Linked DNA regions of Homo sapiens: all the other regions are linked to region 1. The links are contacts of gene promoters, found by promoter capture Hi-C in blood cells and fetal thymus (Javierre and others, 2016). All regions are on one chromosome and are shown on one strand. The core of a region is centred on a gene start or on the middle of the fragment in contact, and the rest is flanking DNA. Distances in the headings are between cores, read along the strand shown.

Region 1 (4,118 bases), core at 760-3,259:
ACTTCGTGAGATATTTTCTTACCACTTGGTCTCTCTCTCTCTCTTTTGAGACAGAGTCTTACCCTGTCACCCAGGCTGGGTTGTGGTGGTGCAATCATAGGTCACTGCAGCCTCAAACTCCTGGGCTCAAGCAATCCTCCCGCCTCAGCATCCCCAAGTGCTGCGTGTCTTTCAATTTTTGACTGGATGTCTCACATTTTGAATTTAATGTTGTTGAATCCTGGATTTTACTGTAGTCTTTCAGAGAGTTTTAGAATTTGTTCTTACAGGTAATTAGGTTACTTACAGAGCAGTTTGATCCTTTCAGGGCTTGTTTTAAGGCTTTTGAAGAATCTACAGTAGTTTATGTTCTGGGTCCTGCAGTCTACGGTTATTATATCTCACTAAGGCATGACACTTTCGTAACCACCCAAAAGGTTCATCTTGCCTACTGCCTAGACAGAGTCGATTTATCAAGACAGGGGAATTGCAATAAAGAGCAATTCATGCAGAGCTGGCAGTGCAGGAGACCTGAGTTTTATTAATCAAATCAGTCTCCCTGAGCATTTGGGGATCAGAGTTTTTAAGGATAATTGGGTGGGTGAGAAGCCAGTGAGATGGGAGTGGTGACTGGTTGGGTAGGAGATGAAATCATAGGGAGTCGATGCTGTCCTCTTGCACTGAGTCAGTTCCTCCCGTGGGGGACACAAAATCAGATGAGCTAGTTTATCCAAGATCAGGTGAGTCAGTTTATCAATCTGGGAGGTGCCAGCTGATCCATCAAGTGCAGGGCCTGCAAAATATCTCAAGCACTGATCTTAGATTTTACAATAGTGATATTATCCCCAGGAGCAATTTGGAGAGGGTTAGAATCTTGTAGCCTTCAGCTGCATGAGTCCTAAATCATAATTTCTAATCTTTCGGCTAATTTACTAGTCCTACAAAAGCAGTCTAGTCTCAAGAAGAGGGTTTATTTTGAGAAAGGGCTATCACCTTTGTTTTAAACTATAAGCTATACACTAAGTTCCTCCCAGTGTTAGTTTGGCCTACGCCTAGGAATGAATAAGGATAGCCTGGAGGTTAAAAGCAAGATGGAGTTGGTTAGGTCTGATCTCTTTCACTGTCTCAATGATAATTTTGCAATGGCAGTTTCACATCTGAGGTTTCTATTGCGTGTTCCATGGTATTCAATAATCTCTTCACTCTGGTTGCTGGGAGCTCAAATGATTCCCAGTTCTGTGTGACCTCTCACCATTGTTTGGTGTACTGCTCCCCAGTAATTGTTCTTTCCTGGCCTTGTGGAGTTTCACGTTTTTTATTCAGTTAAAGATTCAAGGTACTCCTAAGCAGATTTCTGAAGCTCTTTTTCCATGTAATTCCCTCCTCTCCAGAATTCTGCCCTACAAATTCCAACCGACTTGGCCTACCCCAATTTCGTCAACTCCAATCTCTGTCTTTTCAACCCAGGAGATCCTAGGTTTCCATATGATTTCCTTTCATCGCACCACAGACTGGAAATCGCCTCTGGGCAAAAGGGCAGGATGATATACGGCTCCTTTTATTTCTTTTCTCTCAGGTAAAACAGTCCACAGCTGTCCGTTGTCCAATGTCTGAATAGGTGTCTCCTATATTTTGTTCCGTTTTCTAATTGTTTATAGTGGGACACTAAGTCCCGACCCATTTTCTTTTCTTGCCCAGAGTGGAAGTTTTAGGAAACTCCTTATGGAAAATGTGAATTGTTTTATTATTTTTTATGGTCGAAAACATCTTTCTCTATGATATCTTCCCACTCACCCTACTTTTTTCCTTCTCAGGAAACACTGACGGGAACACACGTGCCGGTGCTACCCTCCAGTGACTGGACTAGATCCTTGCGCAACTTCAACCCGCGCTAGCTCCGCCTACGGCCGGCCACGCCCCGTCTTCTCACCGGCGCGCCTCCCTCTTGTTCGTCCTCCCTCCCCCTGTGGACTGCGGCGCTGGCGTTCCGCGCACGCCGGCTCACTGCGCCTGCCCGGCGTGTGGACGCCACACGCTCCCGGAAGTGGGAGGTGGCCGCTGGAGTTTGTGTGGCCGCCGCCGCGGGAACGCGAGCCCGGTAATTTTTCAACGGAGAAAGGCGAGGCTTTCGGGCTCTGCAGAGTGAGAGTTAGCAAGTGTCCGGCTCCAGCAACTCTCCTCTGGCGTGACAGCCGGCATGGAGGATCCACAGAGTAAAGAGCCTGCCGGCGAGGCCGTGGCTCTCGCGCTGCTGGAGTCGCCGCGGCCGGAGGGCGGGGAGGAGCCGCCGCGTCCCAGTCCCGAGGTGAGGAGTCGACCCGCGCCTGGCTGTTGGCGCCAGCTGCCCCGTCCCCAAAGCGCCCTCGGCACCCCTTTCTTCTCAGGTGTCCCGCAGAAGGTGCAGCTGTGCGCCCTTGGACCCCAGCCTCTTCCTCGGTGCCCAGCTCCCTGGCTTTATCCTCGGGTGGGTGTCTTGGAGCCCCCTCAGGGCCGAATCACTCTCTGGGAGGGAGGAAATCGTCAAGACCAGTTCTGTCTACAGTGGGTTAACAGGTTCTAAGAGGGAGTTTTGCTTTAAACTTAATTCTGTGTTCACGGTTGCTGTTGTCACTCCATGTAGCCGTTATGGGTAGTTTGCAAGGCTTTATGTTTTTAAAATCTCACCATATACGCTAGGTATGTCACTTCATGCCTGTTTTTAAAAAAAGAAAAAATTTAAAAAGCACTCACCAGCATCCCTGTCTCTGTACCTGTTAAGTGGAGCTTCGTCTTAGCTGCTTTTGCTCATTAACTGGTGTCTCATATAACCATAGTATAAGATTGAATGAATCATTTTGACATCTCATCGGTTGAACTTAGTTACAGTGGCAAAGTTGTAGAACAGTCTTAAAACTTATTTAACGAATGTTAATTGTTGACTAGCGCTGCGGATTGTAAGTGATTGAATACTAAAATTGATCTTTTCCTAATAATAAACATGTTGAACACTTCGTAAAGCTTCATAAAGTGCGTATTTGCAAGAGGCCTCCTAACTCTTGCTCCTTCCGTCCACAGTCAGTTTCCATCTGGCAGCTAGAATGAGCTTTTCAATAACATGAATTTGGCTTATTCCCCTCCTGAGTCACTTCCATTTGCTGCTCTGCGGGGTCGGGTGCCTGCCTCCCTTGGTAATTGCATCTCACACAGTTTTTTCCCTTTTGTTCCCAGTGCCCCTCGCTGCCTTGTGTTCTTTGACATTGGAAAGAAGGTCTCGTTAAGGATCTCTGTATGTTCCTTTTGCCCTGTGTGCACTTCCTTTGGATCCTTGCAATTATCTTTCTCCTTCTAAGGTTGTTATTTCAAAGAGTACTTGCACATCCCTTCTCTTGTAAAGAACCACTCTTCCACCTGCCTCCCTCTTCAGCCTGAGATACGTTGTCAATCTCATCCTGTAAGTGGGTTTTAAAATAAATTTCGAAGTTTATTTTTAGTAAAAGAAGTGTGTTTGAATATGCTTCTTTATATTTGAAAGTCTTGACACTTTTACAGCTACTTAAGGCCTAGGTCTCTGTTCCAAATTGGCTTTAGTGACGGTAGTAATTGTTAAAAACTTACTGTTGCATGCTCTTTATAGTGATACTTTTTTTTTTTTTTTTTTTTTTTTTTACAAAAAGCCGGTCGTAGTTGCCCTCTCCCGTAGTCCCAGCTACTGGGGAGGCTCAGTGGGGAGGATCACCTGAGCCCATGGGTGGAGGCTGCAGTGAGCTGTGATCGTGCCACTGCACTCCAACCTGGGTGACAGAGTGAGACCCTGTCTCAAAAAATAATAGTAATGATACTTTTTTTTTTTTTTTTTTGGAGACGGAGTTTCGTTCTTGTTGCCCAGTCTGGAGTGCAATGGCATGGTCTCAGCTTACTGCAACCTCCCGCCTCCCGGATTCAAGTGATTCTCGTGCCTCAGCCTCCCTAGTAGCTGGGATTACAGGAACCCACCACCACGCTTGGCTAGTTTTTGTATTTTTAGTAGAGATGGGGTTTCACCATGTTGGCCATGCTGGTCTGGAACTCCTGACCTCAGGTGATCCGCCCACCTCGGCCTCCCAAAGTGCTGGGATTACAGGCAATGAGCCACTGCGCCTGGCCATGATACAGTGTTTTTC
Region 2 (4,118 bases), core at 687-3,186, 730 kb before region 1:
AGTTGGTCATATGCTTGTTCCTGAAAGAGAAACTAGCCAAAGAAATGGGAGGCCCTCAAACAAACCAGAGCCATTGTACAGCAGAGAAGGAGGCATCTTGCTTCTGGGGTACAAGGCGGGTGGAGGTGGAGAACAAAACAGAATTGGGGTGCTATAGAGGGAAAAACAGGGTCGTGGATGCTGGGGAGGGTCTGCTATAGAGTGTGGGAAGGATTCAGTGGGAATTGCACATAAATTGCTTATTACTGTGTTGACTTATATAAATAATTAATCATTAGCTTGGTAAAAGGGCAAACCCAAAGGAAGCTTCTGCAGCTCTACAGGGACCAAAATAACTAGTTCATTGTCTCCACTTAGTGGCCTTTACTGTCACAATGCCCTGTGTACCTCCCCAAGAATGTCCCTTTCTATAGCAATAGGCCTGGCAGTTGATGGGTACCTAGAGGTTGGGGGTTCCACTTCAAAAGACCCCTAGTCAACCCTGTGGTGTGCTAAGGTCAAAATAAATCATAATCTGGTAGCTGTCCATCCCCCAGGGAACACATTTCAATGGAAGATGCCTGAATCTCCTTCAGATTGTTGCAGAGCTGATATTCCAGAAACCAGAGGGCCTCCTGGGCCCTTCAAGGTGTCTGAGGCCACCAACCCTATGGCTTTCTGCCTCTAGCTTCCCTCTTTTGAAAACATCCACACCACTCTGCATAGCTCCCTGCGACACCAAGAGCACCCGCCAAGGACCCAACAGGGGCTCCAGGAATTGATCCACTGTGACAATGAGCCCACTTTCCTTCTTTGAAATGCAGGCTCCAGAAATCTTTAGAGGCTTCTCCCAGGCAAACCTAGAGACATTCTAAAGGAGAAGGCCTGCTGGGAAAGGGGTCGGGGGCGGGTGTTAGTTCTGAGCCATTTTAGTTCTTCTAAATGTGGTCTGCATGACTTCTCAGTCATGGCCCCCTCTTTGGGTCTTGCCCGATACTCTCTCTCCGCGGTTCTCTTCTGCCTTGTTTTTCTAACCCATTTGGCACCTTACCTTACTTCCCATTCATTGTTTGGCTCCTGGGATTGCTGTCCCAGTTTGGAATGTTTATTTTGGCCCTGACTTTGCATTCTTCCAGGGACTTGGTTTTCAGTATTTACCTATCTGTACATTGCCCCATGACTCCCAGAGAGAAATACCTCCTTCCTCTGCCCCACCCTACCCACAGACTGAGTGTGTACTCTGGCCAGCCTCATCTGAGGCAGAGATAAGTCCATAATCGACAGTCATCCTTCCTTTCCTTCTACTTTGTGAAAGCTGCTGTTCCTTAAGTGTCTTGCAGAGGCAGGAGAGAGGTCATCGGAGTAAACCGATTCTATCCCCTATGGGAATTACTGGTACCCATTACCTACTTAACACTTCAGGTTATATCTTAAATATATGTTTGATTTTTAGAAGTCAGGAAATGTAACAATACAGAATGAATTATTTAATATTTGGGGTGCAAGAAGCCCCAAGCTGGTGTTAGTCGCTCCTTCCTGGGAGATGGAAACTCCTCACATCCACTGGGAGCTGTGTCTTGTCCCCACCTCTTTCCTTACTCAACTTCTGGATAAACAGATCCCATAAATGTTTAATTTTTTTTTCCAGTGGCTTTTGTGGTTGTCATAATGGGCATCAAAGGTATGGAAGAACATGGGTGCCCCATTTCTTGTGTGATTTGGGGGTTTGGGTAGTGAAATATACATTTGTTCTAACCAATGTTGCTTCTTTACTATTTCCTTTAAGTTGTTGCAAAAAGCTGGCATATGGAACTGCTGGCTTCGAATTCTGTCTTAAACATCCCTCCAATTATTACTTTTGTTTTCTCAGCTTCACTTAGTAGAAAAACTCCATAGAATGAAAGACATGGAGGGAAATAAAATTAGATTTAAGCAGGGCACGGTGGCTCATGCCTGTAATCCCTGCACTTTGGGAGGCTGAGACAGGTGGATCACTTGAGGCCAGGGGTTCGAGACCAGCCTGGCCAACATGGTGAAACCCTGTCTCTGCTAAAAATACAAAAGTTGGCCAGGCATAGTGGTGAGTGCCTGTAGTCCCAGCTATTCGGGAGGCTGAGGCAGGAGAACCGTTTGAACCCAGGAGGCAGAGGTTGCAGAGAGCTGAGATTGCACCAGTGCACTCCAGCCTGAGTGACAGAGTGAGACCCTACCTCAAAACAACAACAACAGCAACAACAAAATCAAAAACAAACAAAAAATAAATTAAAGAAAGGGATCAATTAGATTTTAAAGTAGAAAGTGACTGATGTCTTGAATTTCAGGTATCAATCCAGGTTCTGTTCCTTCCTTATACCTTGATGTAATGAACACTTATGAATTGCAGATAAGCAAAACCAGCTGCTAGGCATGGGGAATATTCACCTGCTTTATCTCTATGATAGATATTTTAAAATGTAATGAAACTATCAAGGTTAATAAACCAACTATCAAGGCCATTAACAGGTGACGTCTGGTTATATTCATGATCCACATGAACCTGAGTCAGAAATGCATATAAACTGTTGTTTGATTTTAGAGGCTCTAAGGGTAGGGAAACATCTAGAAATAACCATTTTTCTGTACTTCTCACCAAGTCTTTACAGAAAAAGTCACCCTAACTCCTAAACCCCCAAACAGGAGCCTTTGAAATTATTTATGCAGACAGTTCTCTCAATAATTGCCAAGCCCAGATCATTAGTAGTAATTACTCCAGTTGTTTTTATAAGGCTGATAAATAAAAGGTTTGAATCAACATATAAAACTTCCTAGAATGTACAAGATCTGTGAAACTCTTGTAACATAAAGGGATATAATGATACTACGGAAAATCAGCAAAGCAAACAGTCTCATTTTGGGATCTCATTTAGCGTCCACATACAAACAGGGACACTGTCATGACTATTCTCAGGAAACTTCCCCTGAGCCAGTGAACGATTTTCCAGTATCTGCTCAGGGCTACGGTCCAGTGATAACGGGTGACACATGAGGTAAGAGGTTTATGTCAGCGTCAAGTTGATATTGACAATAGTTTGCAAGTTTATTTCAATGAGGTGGACTTCGAGTTTGCGTATATGTACATTCTTTGGGTAGGATGTTCACTTTCCATCCTAGAATGATAATAATTTTGTTATCTCAAAAAATGGAATGATTTCTGGAACATTTATCTATTTACCATGGCAAAGCCAGGAAATGTGTCTATTAACATTCAAAATAAGAAGCATATTTGTAGCAAAAAAAAAAAAAAAAAACAGAAAAAAGTAGTGTTTCCTAAGTTGAATACCTTCCAAACATTTATGCGTTCTTTGTTTAATTTGAACCACTGACAATAGTTAGTCAAGTGCTATAGCCCTTTTTTAATTTTCTGTTTGAGAAGCATAGACTGAGAGGAGCCAAAAGTCTGAGAAATTCAAAATTACTATAAAACTGCCCCATTTTTCTTAATTAAAGAGTAGGCTAGTCTGATTCATAGAGACAGGCCTGAATTGGAGAACCCTGTATAAAAAACGCAATTTATGGCAGCACTTGACAGGGATAGGGGAATCAAATTAAAAGCTTAGAGAATTTTAAAAAAACTAATAAAAATGAATCATTTGTTACTCACTTATTATTTGTATATAAAGGCTACTACGAGGTTGGTTTCTCATGTTGTTTTGGAAAAAATGCATTTGCCTTAGCGTTTAAGTAGACTAAACATGTCTCTTCGTTAATCGTCACTGGCAGTGTGGTCTGTCTGGAATGACTCCAAATTCCCAACTAATAGAGTCCAAATTAATAAACTATGTTGGCTTTGCCAATATTATGCTGGTTACAGCTACATCAGTTGCTGGCTTTGGGGAGGGATTTATTTTTTTAACAGTCGCAGAAAAAGAAGGTACCAGTGTGTAACAAAATGGTTGTACATTCCCGCTATGGCCACCAGAGGGCTATACACCATTACAAATACTCCAGGCCTCGCTACTGAAATGCGATTACAGGCAAGCAGTGTGGGTGTCCTCACTGGTAAGAATCTCCAGCCTGATCCCAGACCTGCTGAATCAGAACCTGCAGCGATGTGACTTCAGGGAATTCATGTGCACATCAAAATTTGAGAACTTCCAGGC
Region 3 (4,118 bases), core at 427-2,926, 690 kb before region 1:
ATTTTTAACCTGGCATCGCTCATGACACCTATGTTCAAAAAATTCTTTTTTTTTTTTTTTCTTTTTAAAACTGCTATTGGGGCATTATTCAATGTCTTCAAACAAAGAATCCTTGACAAATTTCCTTCAGAACCAAGCACTGGGCAAAAATTTCTTCCTTCTGACGAACTGTTTCCTAAAATTGCACACAAAAAAGAATTCTGCAACCAGTTTTCTTTTTATAGGTTGGTGGACAGCTCAGAAGTAAGTTTTATGTTTAATTGCTCTTATTCCTCTCATTCAGAATTTATTGCTATTGTTTCTTCTTTATCCTTTATTTTTTGGTTCATGTTGGTTCTTAGAACAGTTTTTACAACCTCATTTTTTTTTTCTGAAGTGGGTGGTATAAAAAAGTTGCAATTAATTCAGGAATTAAAAATGTGGCTCCTAAGACATTTCTTTCTTTCTTTCTTTCTCTCTCCTTCTTTCTTTCTTTCCCTTTCTTTTTTTCTCTTTCTTTCTCTTTTTTCCTTTATTTCTTTCTTTTTCTTTCTTTTCTTTTCTTCTCTTTCTTCTTTTTTTTGATAGAGTCTCACTCTTGTTACCCAAGCTGGAATGCAGTGGTATGATCTTGGCTCACCGTAACCTCCACCTCCTGGGTTCAAGTGATTCTCCTGCTTCAGCCTCCTGAGTAGCTGGGATTACAGGCATGCACACCCACCTAATTTTTGTATTTTTAGTAGAGACAGGGTTTCTCCATGTTGGCCAGGCTGGTCTCAAGCTCCTGACCTTAGGTGATTGACATGTCTTGGCCTCCCAAATTGCTGGGATTACAGGCATGAGCCACCACGCTGGGCCTTATTTTCTAATGGCACTGCATTCCCCTGTCAGAATATTTGCTCCTCCCTCTCCATTGTTTATTTACTTGAAGTGAAAAAGGACAAAAAAGCAAAAGACAGCAAATTGATGGCAGAAGGTTTGCCTGGAAAATTCCGAGGGACAAAGAAAGAACTGGCAAATAATGCCCCCCCGAAACAGATAGGTCCTGGGGAGAAATATGATTTCCACGTTTGCAGACTCCTTCTCTTGTACAAACGGGTTGGGAGCTGGTTTTGGTTCAGTTCTTTCCTCAATGCTCAGGAAACAATTGAAATTACAAATGCGCCCCAGGTGCTGTCTTCACCAACGATGCATGGAAAGATGAATGTGTTTACATGTAGTCAGGGGCTGGAAGGTGGAACTCACAAAAGGATTGAAATTAATATGCAGAAGAGGACCTGGGAGAGTTCCCTATCCTTCCTGCTAAGTGCATCCCCAGGTTTCTAAAACATCCATTCAGATCTTTGTATTTGTTTTAATTTGTCCAGAGTTATTCACAAGGTTTTAGAAATCAATTAGTTCTGTAGTTGGAAGATTACCCATTAGGTAGAAATACAAGAGTCTTGGGGCTATTTCTCTTCAAATAGGTAATTTTTGACTTTCGTGCCTGTGTCTAGTTTTGAGGAGGAAAGATCTGATGCCTCCTAATTTTCCTTGTGTGTTTTTAAAGGCATAGTAACAAACATTGACTCCAGTAAGCTGTAGGTGCCAATGGGTGCGTTAAATGAGGTTTTAGAAAAGGAGACTTGAAGGAGGCCCGAACAGCAGAGGGAGTACTGGCCTGGGAGTTGAAACACCTGAATTCTATGCTTGCCCTGCCAGTATCTAGTACGGTAGGAACAGTGGGCCGTTTGCCACCTGGCGTCCCATGCATTCTCTCCCTCCTCCCTGCCCCAGGAGGCTGATCCTCCAGACTGCATCACCCAAGGTCCCTTGCTGTCTGGCATCCTATTAGGTTGGAGATGACAGATGGGAAACAGAGACTCCCATCTCCGGCTGTAGAGATCTCAGCGCGAATACCTCCTGTATGTTCCCCTGTCCTGCTGTTCTGGCCCTTGCTTTTGGCCTTGTCACCCTTTGTTCTCATAACCCTGATCACACCTAGCTAAGTGGTCCCCTTAAGTTCTTTTCATCTGAGCCATCTGGGGTGGACTCTGTTTTCAGGCACGTCTCTGAATTTTACAAATGGCAACCAGCTTTAGCAAACTGGAAATGGGTTTGAATTCCAAACCACTGGGATCACAGCGGCTGTGTCTGGATTCTTTCCAGAAGGCTGCCAGGTGGGAAGAGAAACAGGGAAGATGAATTGGTACCCACTTGCCTGGTCCTTTGCAGACTGCTGCTCTATCTCCTGAAAAGCGTTAAGACCAAAGACAGCTCCGTTTTACCCACCAAACATATTAATACACTCAGGCACTTAAGGATAAAGAGCTTTGCTCATGACTCAACCAAAAAAAATTTTAATGGAATTTTCTTCTTTTTTTTTTTTCTTTAAATAACAATTTGACAAAAGGGTGAAGAAATCCTAAACAAGGTATTGAGGCCAGTGTCCAGGCTGCATTCAGTTCACAGAACTGTCCTCAGGACGTTGCATGGAACTGGAAATGTGTATAATTACAGAAGAAAACAGGGAGGACTTAGTGCAGAGAGGAGACGAGTGTGGACGGGCAACAGCATCCTTAGTCTTTCATATTTATATATGGTATATGTATTTTCTATATATATATTTATATATTTTACATCCAGGTATCCCAGTCATCTGTACCATTTCCCAGGGAGACATGGGTGCTTCCAAGGCGAGACAGGAAAGGGTTAGGCAGGGAAGGGGCAGCGACGGTGCAGGCTGGGGCTTGGCTCACAGAAGCTGCAGGAGCTTCAGCGACTGTAAGAGGGCCCCGGGCTCCGCAGACGCCAGGTACTGGCAGCAAAGCCAGTCCTCCAGCTCCACGCCCCGCCTGCGATCCACCGCCTTCTCCGCAAACTTCATCATCATCAGGGCCCGCTTCATGTCGATCCAGTTGTGCAGCGTGCCGCACAGCGCCTCCTCCGAGGTGCCCGGCTGCTGCACCAGCTCGCGCCGAGGCCCCCACAGCAGGCACTGCAGCACGCGCTTGGCCTCGCCGATGCGGATACGCTTGATGGGGTCGGCCTCCAGTAGCAGATGTGCCAGCTGCTGCAGGCCGGGTGAGTAGAGGGACAGCGCGGGCAGCGGCGGCAGGTCCTCCTGCCGGTAGTCTCTCTCCCGCAGCTGGGCGCGCACCTCGAACGGGTTGGGTTGGTGCAGCAGCTCGTAGATGAGGATGCCTGTCTGGAACTCATCGAACTTGCGGTACTGGGAAGCAGACACGATCTCGGGGGCCAGCCGGGCCTGGCTCTTCTTCTGCTGCAGGTTTGGGGTGCCGCCCGGCTTCTGCTTGGCCTTCAAAAAGTTGCTGATGATGAGCCGGGGCAGCTGCTTCTCCCGGGGCCCTTCCGGGGAGGCGGGGCCGGCTGCGGGGCTGAGAGTGCCACCAGCAGGCGGGGCGGCAGAGGAGCAGGGAGGCGCGGCGGCGGCGGGGGCGGGAGCCGGGGCGGGGGCGGGGGCGGGCCCGGGGCCGGCCTGGAGGGTGCAGTGCACCAGCAGCAGGTTCTCCAGGCACAGGTCCCGGTGGATGATCCCGTGCTCCTTCAGGTGCTCCAGCCCGTTGCAGAGTTGCAGAAGCAGGAAGCACACGCGCCGCTCGTACGCCTCGGGCTCCGCCTGGTGGCTGGCCGCCGAGTCCCGCACGAAGTCGGAGGCGGTCTGATGTGGCACCTCTCGGGTGATGACCACCACGCAGTCCTGCTCCTGGGCAGGGGGGTGTGTGGGCAGGGCAGGCACAGGGTCCTTGGGCGCGTCGGGGGAGCTGAGCATGCTGGACGGCACCGAGGCGACGAAGTGGCCGCAGTCCTGCTGGATGTTAAAGTGCACGGGCACGGACGGGCTGCAGTAGGAGACTGTTTTGGGCTCAGGGGCTTTGCAGATCTGTGGAGAGAAGAAGAAGTGAAATCAAGAGTGGGGCCCATGGTTCCGCCCAGCAAAGAGTGTGGAAACATTTGAGTATCTACGTGCAATAAGCCTATCCACATAGGCTTAAGGGTAAGAGCAATCCATACACATGCTAGAAGAAAACATGGGACAGAATCTTTGAGGCCTTGGGTTGGGCAAAGATTTCTTAAATATCACACCAATAGCATAGTTCACAAAAGAAAAGAAAAATCACAAACTTAACCTCAAAGTT
Region 4 (4,118 bases), core at 747-3,246, 670 kb before region 1:
TTGTACCCAGCACAGAGTTTGCAATCAACAATATCTATCAAATGAATGACTGCATTAATATGCATTTCTTAAAAATTTGCCAGTAGTAGTCAGCTTGTTGAGAAAAACAAGCTGACTGACTACTGTCAATATATTTAATTAGTGTTCTGTATCTCTGGTTTGCCAGCTATAAAAATAAGAATGGTATCACTGCCCTGGTACATGTATTCATGCAAGTGAGAATATCTATATGAACTGTATTTTCAGACTTCTTATCTATTGCTGGTGCCAATGGTTTCAGTTCAACAGAGAACTCTCTAATCTTCTCTAATCTCCAGGCATTCAGAAATGTTTGCCGAACTGCTGAACTGAATTTTAATGGTATCCTACATCAAAGAGGGAAATGATCTCAATGAGACATTAGGTTTGCAAATTTACAAGTAACCACTTAAAGCAAAAAGGTCTCTTGATGACCATTTCTGATCATCATTTCCCTCACACGTCCAACCATCCATTCCCTGCAAAAACCTTCCCCTTGGCAGCCTTCATGGATCTGTCCTGACACATGCAGTCTGTACCTCCTAAACCAAGCATAAACCAAACAACTGCTTCGACAAATTTTCCTTGCACTGAGTTGACTGGCTGTTCAATTGAATTGGACAAATGGGATAACAGATGCACTGGAGGAATATGTAATCTGATACAAGTATAAAGAGGTGAAATTAACATTGATACAAAAGTGGCATTTTGCCACTGTAACATTTAGAATAAGCACCTGTTTTAAAAATGTAACAAAGTAAGAGATTTCGATTAGGTTTTCCTTATACAACTAAAACCTCCCCCCACCCATAAAACGCAAATCATTAACTTCAGCCATTGACTCTGATAAAAGTATAAAAAGGTGAAATTAACATTGACACAAAAGTGGCATTTTGCCACTGAAACATTTAGAATAAACACCTGTTTTAAAAATGTAACAAAGTTAGAGATTTCTATTAGGGTTTTCCTTATACAACTAAAACCTTCCCCCCACTCCCCTCCCCACACCCCTTTCCCCCCTCCCCCCACCTCCGACATAAAGCATGAATCACTAACTTTAGCCATTAACGCTGATACATTTCCAAGAAGTTTACACAAACTACTATCATGATATGCCCTGGAATGACTTTTTCCTCCATTCATTCAGGCCAGCCTATACTGTGGATGGAAAAAGTCAATGAAACGCATAGTTTTCACTAGCAGATTCTTACTGACAAAATAAATGTAGAAGAGTCTAATGGTATCTTTTGGCTTAATGTATAATATTAGAAAGGCAGACACTACATTCAAGTTTCAAAGAACTTCAGCGTGAACTAGTTCTTTTTCTATTTGGATCTAATCTCTCAGCTTTGGTACTGCATGCCAAACAGTAACTAAAGTTGCAATGGATAAATATTTCAGTTACAAGATAAAAGTGAGTTAAGGACCCATGGGACTGGAAGATAATTGTGCAATAACAAATCTAAGCTGCCTTGGTAAGCGGTGAGAAGTGAATGAAGGATTTCTCATATTACATGACCAGTAGTTCTGTATATTCTCCAGATTAATGATTAATGTTTAAAAGATGTCAAAAAGAAGAGAGAGAGAGAGAGAAAGAGAGAGAGAGAGAAAGAATGTCATGCCTTTGGTCTCTTGCCAGTTTCAAAACATGGTTCCGGGTACAGAGAGCCATGTCCAGGGGCAGCAGATAGAATGGTTGGCTCTCAGGGGCTAGAGTCCAGGGACAAGGTACATATCTTCTTGTTGGTCTGGGAGTCTAAGTTTTGAAATGCATTTCTACTGAACAACTAGCTTGTGATAAAGGAATACCACGACAATATATTCATTTTAATTCATGTTATTCAGAAACGAACATGAGAAAACGTCTGAATAGGTTTCCCCGTTGAACTCGCAAACCTCCAGCATTGAACTCACAAACCTCCGGCAGCTCTCTGTCTCCCACCTGCACAGATTGCTGTGAGAGCCGTGTACAATTCAGCCCCTGCTTCCCACCAAGCTCATGTCCCATTTCCCCTTGCCGGTGTCTATTGAAGCATGTCAGACTGGTCTCATCCTTCTCCCACATGCACTGCCATCCCTGTGGCTTTGTTTCTCTTTTATTGTTCTCTAAACCTGGAAAGCCCTCTCCTCCTCACCCCCTACCTCCCCAGTTCTGGCCACATTTCAGATCTGATCTCTAAGTCCCATGTTCTCATAAAGTCTTCCCTAAACCCTCCACCAGCCTTCATTGATTTCTGTCTCTTCTGGAAGCCTTTATAAGAAGCACTCATGTTCTGGGCTGCCCAATATCCTACCATATCCCATCCACCCATGTACCATGTGTTTTAACCTTATCTTTCCTAGTCAGTTCTTAGGAACCCTGCGAGTGGACGTCATGGTTTACTGGTTCTGGGAAACAAAGTGGTGAAGCCATGAAGTCCAGTTCGCCTGACACCCGCTGGTTGGTGACTGATGGTTCATTGTAGATCACTCCCCAGAACTGGTTACAATCTCCAAGAGAGTGGATCAGAGCTAACCAGCACAGGGGCTCGTGGTCGAGATGCACTGCCCTCTATGGAATAATCTGCCTTGTTGAATTTGTTATACAATGGGCTGGGAAAAGGAAGAAGATAAGAGCCTAGAAAAATCTACAGAAAAAGAAAATCTGTTGTTGCTACATTCCTCCCAAATCAAGACTAAGATATTTCCTGTTTTTAAGTAAGAACTGTCAGAGGTTTCTCATCAGAACACACCACAGACTGACTTATAACACACTCTTTTGTCTCAGCCAGTACCTATTGTTTAGGTAGAATAATGTTGCTGACAGTAAATTTGCAATGGAACCCTCTACTGTGTCATTGCCTATTGAGAAGAAATATTTCCATAGGACTGAAAAAGGAAGTCATGTGAGTACAAGTCTAAATCCAACATGCTAACGCAAGTCTAAGAGAAACGCAGGAGAGGACACATACACAAAGAATGCTGAAAGGGTGAGAGGTTTTAAATATGACCCATCCAGGCCACAACTATGGAAAAACAAGAGTTCCTTTTTAGGGACATGCCCAGTGGAGGACAGACCCACCCATAGGCCTTAGAGCTTAATCCAAAAAGCAGGCTAGATGGTGGCCTAATGTAGTCTTCATGCTTAATTCAGCAAACATTATGTAAACATCTGCTGTGTCCAGTAAGTGTGTACATGTGGGTACATGCACATGTAGATGCAAAAGAGAGAGAGAGAGAGAGAGAGAAAGAGATAGTGAGAATGTGTGGTTTAGGACCCATCCTGAGGACAGAAGTAAAAAGCAGGCCTGTACACAGATGGCTCATTACCCAAGGAAATAGGAGCCTTTCAACCTCATCTTCCTCCCACCATGTTGCCACGTCCACACTCTTATAATTTGGAGAGGGCAATATGGATGGGCTGGCTTGCCATATATTCAGTAGATAATTGACTTCAACAGCTCCCTGGAAGAGTCTACTTCATTGAGAAAGCAGGACCAAGACAGTAGTCCTTGCTCAGCCCTTCCAATCCCGCAAGCAACGCAGGACTGGTCTTGAAGGTCCAGGAGAATCTAAGCCTCTCCGTCAATGTCAAGTTTGTTACCTCCATCGCTGCAGGTCCTAGAGTCTGAGGCCAGGCTGTCCGTGGAGCCGGTGGTGAAGCTGACGTGGACACCCCTGAAGGATGGGCTGAGGCTTTCTGCAGAGCCCTGGCTCACTTTTTCCAAATCAGAGCTGCTCTTGTTCATTTTTAGAAGGTGCCTGGAAAAGGTAGGAACAAACAATACAAATAACTCATTGGATTTCCATTCAGAAACCAGGCTGATGGATCATGAACTTACCATGCTCTTGAAACCTGGCCAATGTCAGCAAGTTTATTAAAAGAAAAAAAAAAGATTTTGGGGAGACAGTAGAGGTTCTCTTCTGAGTTCTTATGTGCATGAATGACAGGAGACTTCCAGAGTGTGGTTAGGAGAAGCGAGTCTATTAAATTTAAACAAGCACCAAAATTCTTACATGGAAGGAATTGCCTTCATATTCTGACCCCATCTGCCAAAACAGTTGTGTCACTTATTATATCCTGTGTAAAATCTCTACAAAGAAAAATAAAGATATTATCA
Region 5 (4,118 bases), core at 588-3,087, 640 kb before region 1:
ACAACAAAAGCAAAGACAACAAAAGCAAAAATAGATAAACTGGACTACATGGGAATAAAAACATGTTGTGCATCAAAGGACATAATCAATAGAGTGAAAAGGCAACACATGGATTGGGAGAATATATTTCAAATCCTACATCTGATAAGCGGTTAATATCCAAAATAAACAAACAACACTTAAAACTCAACAACAAGAAACCAAACAATCCAATTAAAAACTGGTCAAAGAACTTAAATTTGTCAAAAAACAAAACAAAACAAAAACCCACAAGGGCCAGTAAGCACATAAAAAGATACTCAACATCTTTAATCATTTGGAAAACACAAATCAAAAGCACAATGAGACAACAACTCATCCCATTAGGATGGGTACTATAAAAAACAAAAACAAAACAAGTTTTGAAGACACATGTGGAGAAATTGGAACCCTTGTGCACTGTCAGTGGGAATACAAAATGGTGCAGCTGCTATGGAAAACAGTAAGGCAGTTCCTCAAAAAATTAGAAATAGAATCACCAAATGAGCCAACAATTCCACTTTGTGGTATATATTTCAAAGAACTGAAAACAGGGTCTCTAACAGATATTTGCTTACCTGTGTTCATAGCAGTATTATTCACAGTAGCCAAAATGTAGAAGCAACTTAAGTATCCATTAACAGACGAATGAATAAACACAATATGGTTCTGTGAATGTATGGGAAAAACAAATTCAGTTCCTCCTATACTGTCACAATACAAAATACTTCTGTGACCTCAGATCTTGTTAGTTGTCCACCCCAACACCATGCAAGCAATCAATTCTGCAGCAAACACCAGCTGGTTGCTACCAAATTCAATTCAATTCTGACACTATCTACCTAGAGGTAGAGTCAGATCCCACAGGTTGAGGGTTCAGTTTCAGAAGACTTCCCCCTACTTCCAATGCCAATCCAAAGCCCAGGTTGTTTTATCTGTGCTTCTGATCAATCAATTATAAATTGGGGCTCCCATAATCTCCTCCTTGGGTTCAATTAATTTGTTAGAGCTGCACATAGAACTCAGGGAAATGCTTACAAGTTTATTATAAAGTATATCACAAAGGATACAGAAGAAGAGAAGCATGGGCAAGGCGTGTGGGAAGGGGCATGATGCTTCCATGCCCTCTCTGACAAACCACCCTCAAGGAAACCCCAGAGGTTCTGCTATTCAGAAACTCTCTGAACTCTGTCCTCTTAGGTTTTTATGGAGGCCTCATTACATAGTCATGATTAATTAAAGCATCAGCCATTAGTGATCAACTTAACCTTCAGCCTCTCTCCCCAACCCTGTGGGTTGGAGTGGGACTGAAAGTCTCAACCCTCTAATCTTGTCTTGGTTTTTCAGGTGACCAACTCCCCTACTGAAGTGACCAAGGGGCTGCCAGCCCTCAGTCAATTCATAAGCATACAAAAAGACACATCATTTCTGTTGGAAAGGAATGCTTATTCCTTGGTGCTACAAAGAAGAATCAGCATTCAGACAAAAAGTTTTCTCAGCAAGACAATTTTACTTTCTGCAGAAAGGGTGCTGCCCATCAGCAATCCTGCCACGAGAGCACACTGAACAAAGAGACACAGGAATATTTATCCCTTATGGGTGAAGTCCCTATTGCTTTGTCCTACCTCCACTGGCTGGAGCTGGACCTCACAGTCTAAGCTTAGCCCAATTGGCTAACAATCTAAAACTTTCCTAAATAGGTAAAGACAGTGCTAAACAAAGGAAAAGAGGAAGTTGCTTACATAAAGGCTTATAGAAGCAATAACATTTCCAAATAAGGAAGGGATATAAGCTGTGACCTGGGACATGCCTGAGCAAGCCAAAACTCATATTGTAGTTAAAGTATATGTATATATAAAATGCTTATCCTTTTACACTTAATGACTATGTAAGGTTTAATGAAGAGTTATTGTTAAAAGCTAGTCTTTAAGATAAACTATTAGTTCTAACACTTATGATTTATTCCTTAATAAAAAAGGTAAGCTTGAAGAGGAACTTTTTACTTTTCACAATTCCCTCCTCTTATTTTTTTATAGTTTTTCCTCTTCAAACTGTTTTAATATTTCTTGGCTTAATTGCTCTGATTGAATTTCTAAAAGGAGAATTTTTTCTGAATAAGGTGGAGGAGAGTTAAGATGGGTTTTAGTAAGAGTTGTTTTTGTTAATCTTATTACTAATTCCCAGATGCATGGTATAATACAACACCCAAGAAGAAGGAGTATGCCTATTACAGTTGCTATAGAAGTAAGAATTGAGGCTACAGTTTCTTTCTATTGACCGGACCATCCTTCTAGCCAATTAGAAATAGCATTAGGTACAACAGGATGAGTCGTCTAGACTATCTGATTGATAGCTCTAAGGTCTTGCACTAATCAGTATGACCCGTCTGATTACTTGACTGGTAAAATTGGAGTATTGGATGAGGACATACAAGGTTTGAGCAGCCCATCTTTAATAAGTCCTTCAATTACAGGCTTTAACCCTATTCTTCCTTATAAAGGAATACGGTATTGCTTTCTCCTTACTACCTCCCCTGGAGTTTTTAACCAAATATGTATTGGAGGAATTCGTAGCTTTCCTCAGTTTCCTTGACCAGACATCTGGATGTATGTATTTTTCATCTATCGCAGTTAACAAATTTAAAGAGGTTAGAAAACCTTTTGGACCAACTTGCAAACCTATACCTAATTTATCATTAAATCCCTTACTAACAAATTGGTTCCTGCTTCAGGAATTAATAAAAATTGTATACAAGTCGATTGATCTTGATATTTAACTTCCATATTTTCTAAAATTTTTGCCTTAAATCCTTCTCCTTTGACCCTGGAAACTGTCAATTCCTCTGAGGAACGAGCTAAATCAGCTGGAGGAAAACCAACAGATGAGTGAGCAGCTCCTGAGTCAATCAAAAAGGTGATTAATTCATGTTTGGGTCCCACCTCTAAATTTATCAAGGGCTCTTGGTGGGACTCGAAATAGAAAAGACAGAGCCCCTGACCCCTCTATTCTTCTTCAGAAGTAGTCACAAATGGGAGAGCTTCCTCTGCTTTTTCCAATTCAGGACATTCGTTCTTAAAATGACCTGGCCTCCCACATCTGTAACATCTGTCTTGCCCTCCCTGTCTTCCAAGCCCAGGGCCCCTTTTCTTCTTCTCTTTATTTTCATATCCACAGCCCCTATGGCACTTACTTTTACCTTCTCCTCTAAAATACTGACCTTGCCTTCATTCTCTCTGCATTCCTGAATTACCAAAATTTCTCCTCTTGCCTCCTCTAGAAAATCCTACAGGTGTGGGTCTAGACTTAGCCCCCTACATCATCTGTCCTGGTGAATTCTGCCAAAAGATTTTCACTTTCTGCCTTTGTCTTTCCTCATCTCTCCTCAAATATACCTTCTGAGCTTCTCCTAACAACTCCTCTATTGACTTATTCTTCCAGTTCTCTAATTTTTGTAACTTCTTAGCAATGTCTGGCCAACTCTTAGTAACAAAGTGCAGTTTTAACATTCCTTGCCCAAGGGGGCTTTCTTGGTCTAAATCTGCATATTTTCTCATCTGTTCTCTTAGTCCAAGAATCTCATAGGTCCTTCATCCTTTTCTTGTTGTATGTTAAATGCCTTGGAAAGATTTTGGGTTCAGGGTGCTGATTGCTGAATCCCCTTGATTATTATTTCCCTTAAATCTTTCATATTATCTCAGTGGGTGGCATTATTTTTATCCTACTGCGGTTCCTGAGCAGGGAATTTGTAATCTGCTGCCAGAATATTTTGACCTGGAGGATGTTCACATTCCCAAATTGCCATAGCGGCTCTGTGGATCATATTTCTTTCTTCCCCTGAAAAGAGGATATCCAGGATGGAAATTAATTCAGCCCAAGTATATAACTGAGGGCCTAAAAAGTGATCAATTTGATCTGACATCTCATAAGGATCATCTAACAGTAGCTTGAGTTCCTTTTTCAGACTTCGGACCTCAGACCCAGTTAGGGGAGCATTTACAAAGTCAATGTCCCCCTCACTGAGGAACTTCCCTTAAAGGAAAGAACGTTGAAGTTGACCTCTTAGTAGGGGAGGAAAGGGAAGATTCTGAATATCCTTTTTA
Region 6 (4,118 bases), core at 890-3,389, 620 kb before region 1:
AAAATATTCAGGACTTCCTGGAAAAAAGCCTACTGAAGACACTTCAGAGAACTGGGGAATAAAAAGAGGACCAGATTATAAAAATACAGGCACCAACAAATGGCAACAGCTTGGTGAAAGATTGATTTTAAATCACCAATCCCAAGCAGGGACCACAAGTAGGTTTGTTTGCTGGGTACAAAGAGGGCCACAACTCCTGCTCTCCGAGGGCTGCACTGGGACCCTGGGAAATTTACATAAAGGCACAAGGGCCTTTGGGCAGATTCTGGGACCTGGGCCTGAAAGCTTTGATGAGGGCAAAGGTTTCTTCTGGAAGAGCCCTTTGCCCTGCAGACAGAGTCCCAGGCAGACAATGGTACTCACCGCGACTTTGGAGGCGGAGGAGGAGGTGAGAATGTCTCAATCCCACTTCTGTCCTTGGGGAACTCAAAGGCAAAAGAGGCGGATTTGCTCATCCCGGTCCCAACTTTGCTGTTCTGCCCAGAGGAGCCATCTGTGGGGTGGAGACGGTGCCAGGTCGTGGAGTTTGAATGGTCCGTGGGGCCATTTTTGGTCTCTCTTCCCCAGCTGTGACTCAGCAATTCCTGCTCCACCTCCTCTTCTTCCTCTATCCGGCACTGACGACTCCAGGTGCCTGCCTGGAACCTGGGCCGCCTCTGTTCCGAGGCTGACGAGGCGGCAGGCTGGGGACACCTGGATGGGTCACTGATAGCGACACCGTTGGTCCGGCAGGAAGGAGCGGGGTCAGCAGGACCTTGGGATGGAGGCTGGGGCCCAATGCTGCTGCCGCCAGAGCTCCCATCACTAAGGTCAGCCAGCGGTGACACTGGGGGCCCTCCAGCAGACGGTGACACCGGGGACCCTACAGGGCTACTCTTGGACAACTTGGGGGGAATGGCGGGCCTCTCCTTGGGCTTGCTCTCGCTGGCACTGTGAGCATGGCTTTCCCTGGAGCTCAGCCCCTGCCCAGCCGAAGTCTCCTCTTCACCTACCTCGGAGTTCTGGCTCACAGGCCCTCGTGGCCACTGCACCCCCACTGCAGAGTCAGGGCTGCTCAGGTAGATCGTCCGATGGTCCTCTTCCGGGTGGGCCGCCATGACTGTGATGGTGGCTGACACCTGGGGAGTTGGGTCTGGGCTGTCCCGGCCCCAGCCAGATGCTGCTTTCTGGGCCCAGGCATTACCTGTGCATACCTGGCCTTGGCCCTGGGCAGCAGCTGCATGTTCTATCTTGGCCTGTGACTTGGAAGGCACCGGAGCTGCCTTCTTCCTCTTGGTGCTCTCAGCATAGATGGGTTCAGGCTGTGTAGCCTCCCGGGGGTGGGCCGGGGGCTGGGGCTCCCCCGTCAGCCCAAGGCATCTGCTAGGGGTCACCCCTGGGCAGCCAGGGTCCTGCTGCTTCTCTGGGGCAGGTTCCTTCATGAGGGAGCAGTAATCACTCTCGAGGTGGGGGACGAAGGGGCTACTGGCGCCGCTGCCGCTGCCGCTGCCGCTGCCACAAGAGAGGCCGTCGGAAGAAATGGCAGCCTCCGAGGTGAGGGACAGTTTCTTGGGGCCCAGGCAGGATGGGTGGGCAGTGGGGCCCTGGCTACAGCACTCCTTGGGGAAGCTCGGGCCCCGCTTCTCCTGCTCTGCGGGCCCGGAACACTTCCCCTGCTCCCAGCACGTGGGTGAGCAGTCCCTGCCACCATGCCTGCCCCGGGAACCTGCAGTCTGGGAGGCAGCCTTGGCAACAGGGCTCCCAGGGCAGCAGTCCAGGATGGAGCAGTACTCTCCACCCTCGCTGTCCCCGGAGGGCGAGCACCTTTGATCACTGTCATCCTCCGAGGGCAGGGATTCCCGCAGGGGCCCAGGGCCCTGGTGACAGCCAGATGTGGTCCCAGCAAAGGCAGCCAGTTTCTGGCGGAAGCTCTCCTGGGTGGAGGGCCGGTCTTGGTAAGGAAATGAGGGTTTTTCTTTGTGCACAGCCTTCTCCTCCGGGAAGCTCACCGGGTGGAAGGCAATGTTCCTCTCGCCGCGGGGCTCAAGGTTGTGCAGGCCGACCATGGTGTAAGCTGGGGGACAGCGAGAATTGCCATCAGGGGAGGTAGAGGGACCAGCAGGCTTCTGTACACCTCGGAAGCTGCCCAGGTAGACGACGGGGGCATCCTCCTGCTTCGGGAGGGGGAGCTTGCCAGGGGCTCGTCTCCAGATGACCTACACACAAGCCCAACGCAAAAAGACTTATATTAGAACTTGTCATAGAAAAAAGAGAGAGAGGAAAAGTGAGAGGGAAGGGCAACGATACTGTAGAATGTCTTCTGTAGTGCAGTGCAGGGGCGCTGGGGCCGGGGACTCAGTGCACGCCCACCTTCTCATCTCCCCACGGCCCTGTGATCATTGCTGGGGCACCCGCTGAGCCATTTGTCTTCCCAGACACTGAGCTGCCCTTCCTACCCATGGACTGTAATGCTTTTGGCTTAAGTCTGTGAAGTAGGAAAAGAAAAATATAACTCTGAAAAAGAACACTGTGCCTTCTTCCTCCCTTGCAACCAGCTGCTGGGTGACACAAGTTGTTCCACTGGATTGGAAAATGGAGCTTGGGGTTTTGTTTAATTTTTGCTTTGAGTTTGTGGGTTTTTTGATAACCCAATCACAGTGCATGCCTGAAGAAATCGAAGTCTTAAGTGTTTTTAAAACACACTGAACACACTGGAGCCAGATGCCGTGGCTCATACCTGTAATCCCAGCACTATGGTGGGCCGAGGAGGGCAGATTGCTTGAGCCCAGGAGTTCAAGACGAGCCTGGGCAACATGGCCAAATCCCATCTCTACAAAAAAATACAAAAACTTGGTGGGCGTGGTGGTGTGTACCTACAGTCCCAGCTACTTGGGAGGTTGAGGTGGAAGGATGTCTTGAGCCCAGGAGGCGGAGGTTGCAGTGACCCAAATCACACCACCACACTCCAGCCTGGGCGACAATGCCAGACCCTGTACCAAAAATAATGATAATTAATAATAATAATAATAAAGAAAAAAGAAACACATTGGGTGGGTGGGTGTGGGCAGAACAGGAGGGTGAGGGGTGGTTTCTGAACCGGATCAGGGTGAGGGGTGGTTTCTGAACCAGATCAGAGTGAGGGGTAGTTTCTGAACTGGATCAGGGTGAGGGGTGGCTTCTGAACCGGATCAGAGTGAGGGGTGGTTTCTGAACTGGATCAGGGTGAGGGGTGGCTTCTGAACTGGATCAGAGTGAGGGGTGTTTTCTGAGCTGGATCAGGGTGAGGGGTGGCTTCTGAACTGGACCTGGGCTTCCTCGCTTCTTTCTGTGCTTTGCTTCCAACTATGCCAGAGGTCATCTTTCTCCCGCCTACAGCAGTGACCTCAGCCTGAGCCTGTGCGAGTGGTTGGACTCGTTGGGCTATGAGACAGAGATGTGGACTGGTCATTACCATCCCTGAAGTCACCGTTTCCTCCTCCTTCTGGTCTAAAGTCCTCCTTTACCCCCACTTTTAGAAGCAGCCTCAAAGCAGGGCCTGCCTCTGGCTTCTTTCCCAGGTGATTCTGAGCTTAAAGAGTCCCTGGCTCAGGTTGGTGAAGGTTGAAGGTATTGAGAATGGCCTGGAGAATGGGTGTAAGCAGCTTAGGAAAAAACAGAGCAGCCCGGAAGGGGACATCAAGTTCACTGCAACCAAAGGAAATGCCTCTCCTCAATGAAGACTCCCCTGATTTAGAATTGACCTTAGTTTTCATATATGCTCACACAGCCTTCCTGACCTACTCACCATATTGGTCAAGAAAACTAGAACAGGCAAAGAGGTCAAACAGGTAGCAAGCAGTTCCTAGGATATGTCTTAGCCACATAGCTTCCTAAATGTGTCTAAAGACAGCAGATGCCAGCAGACCCGGGCTATGTGCCCTCTGAGTTTGTAAAGGTTACCTGTGGAATGAGCAGAATGGTCTAGCCTCTAGGTTGTAACTGTTTTTAGTGACCCTAGAAGAAAGCTGGTAAAATCCAAGCTTCAAAATTGGAAACAGGAGTACTGGCTGGGTATTAGATAATATTAAGGAATTACTGCTAATATTCTGAAGTGTGGGGCCAGGCATGGTGGCTTATGCCTATAATCCCAGCACTATGGG

The links. Contacts are between HindIII fragments. The CHiCAGO score rates a contact against its expected background, and 5 or more counts as called.
Region 2: a fragment that was not itself captured here is called in contact with the fragment with the promoter of ERI1 in region 1 in 5 of 17 cell types (total B cells, naive CD8 T cells, naive B cells and 2 more); the score reaches 12.6 in total B cells.
Region 3: a contact is called between a fragment that was not itself captured here and the fragment with the promoter of ERI1 in region 1, in 1 of 17 cell types (activated CD4 T cells). The highest score is 5.1, in activated CD4 T cells.
Region 4: a fragment that was not itself captured here is called in contact with the fragment with the promoter of ERI1 in region 1 in 6 of 17 cell types (M0 macrophages, naive B cells, total CD4 T cells and 3 more); the score reaches 7.1 in M0 macrophages.
Region 5: a fragment that was not itself captured here is called in contact with the fragment with the promoter of ERI1 in region 1 in 1 of 17 cell types (total B cells); the score reaches 5.5 in total B cells.
Region 6: a contact is called between a fragment that was not itself captured here and the fragment with the promoter of ERI1 in region 1, in 3 of 17 cell types (M2 macrophages, naive CD8 T cells and M0 macrophages). The highest score is 7.4, in M2 macrophages.

Annotation. Positions count from the first base shown.
Region 1 is chr8:9,000,888-9,005,005 of GRCh38, forward strand. ERI1 (exoribonuclease 1) reads left to right here and starts at 2,010. Exons shown (of 7, transcript NM_153332.4): 1 at 2,010-2,284. The coding sequence starts at 2,177. LOC105379227 (a long non-coding RNA gene) reads right to left here and starts at 1,855. Exons shown (of 3, transcript XR_002956680.2): 1 at 1,774-1,855. The HindIII fragment of the contact is 5,155 bases long and covers 1-2,974 here.
Region 2 is chr8:8,269,433-8,273,550 of GRCh38, forward strand. No RefSeq gene overlaps it. Among named protein-coding and RNA genes, the nearest start is that of FAM85B, 44 kb to the left of the region's middle. RefSeq lists a silencer at 955-1,249. The HindIII fragment of the contact is 3,264 bases long and covers 305-3,568 here.
Region 3 is chr8:8,315,441-8,319,558 of GRCh38, forward strand. PRAG1 (PEAK1 related, kinase-activating pseudokinase 1) reads right to left here. Exons shown (of 6, transcript NM_001080826.3): 6 at 2,296-3,862. The coding sequence ends at 2,714. Among named protein-coding and RNA genes, the nearest start is that of PRAG1, 69 kb to the right of the region's middle. The HindIII fragment of the contact is 7,469 bases long and covers 1-4,118 here.
Region 4 is chr8:8,335,877-8,339,994 of GRCh38, forward strand. PRAG1 (PEAK1 related, kinase-activating pseudokinase 1) reads right to left here. Exons shown (of 6, transcript NM_001080826.3): 4 at 3,602-3,759. Among named protein-coding and RNA genes, the nearest start is that of PRAG1, 49 kb to the right of the region's middle. The HindIII fragment of the contact is 4,489 bases long and covers 1-4,118 here.
Region 5 is chr8:8,357,143-8,361,260 of GRCh38, forward strand. All of the region lies in intron 3 of PRAG1 (PEAK1 related, kinase-activating pseudokinase 1), which reads right to left. Among named protein-coding and RNA genes, the nearest start is that of PRAG1, 27 kb to the right of the region's middle. The HindIII fragment of the contact is 324 bases long and covers 1,676-1,999 here.
Region 6 is chr8:8,375,884-8,380,001 of GRCh38, forward strand. It overlaps PRAG1 (PEAK1 related, kinase-activating pseudokinase 1), which reads right to left. Exons shown (of 6, transcript NM_001080826.3): 3 at 364-2,195. Among named protein-coding and RNA genes, the nearest start is that of PRAG1, 8.5 kb to the right of the region's middle. RefSeq lists an enhancer at 202-1,141. The HindIII fragment of the contact is 3,713 bases long and covers 284-3,996 here.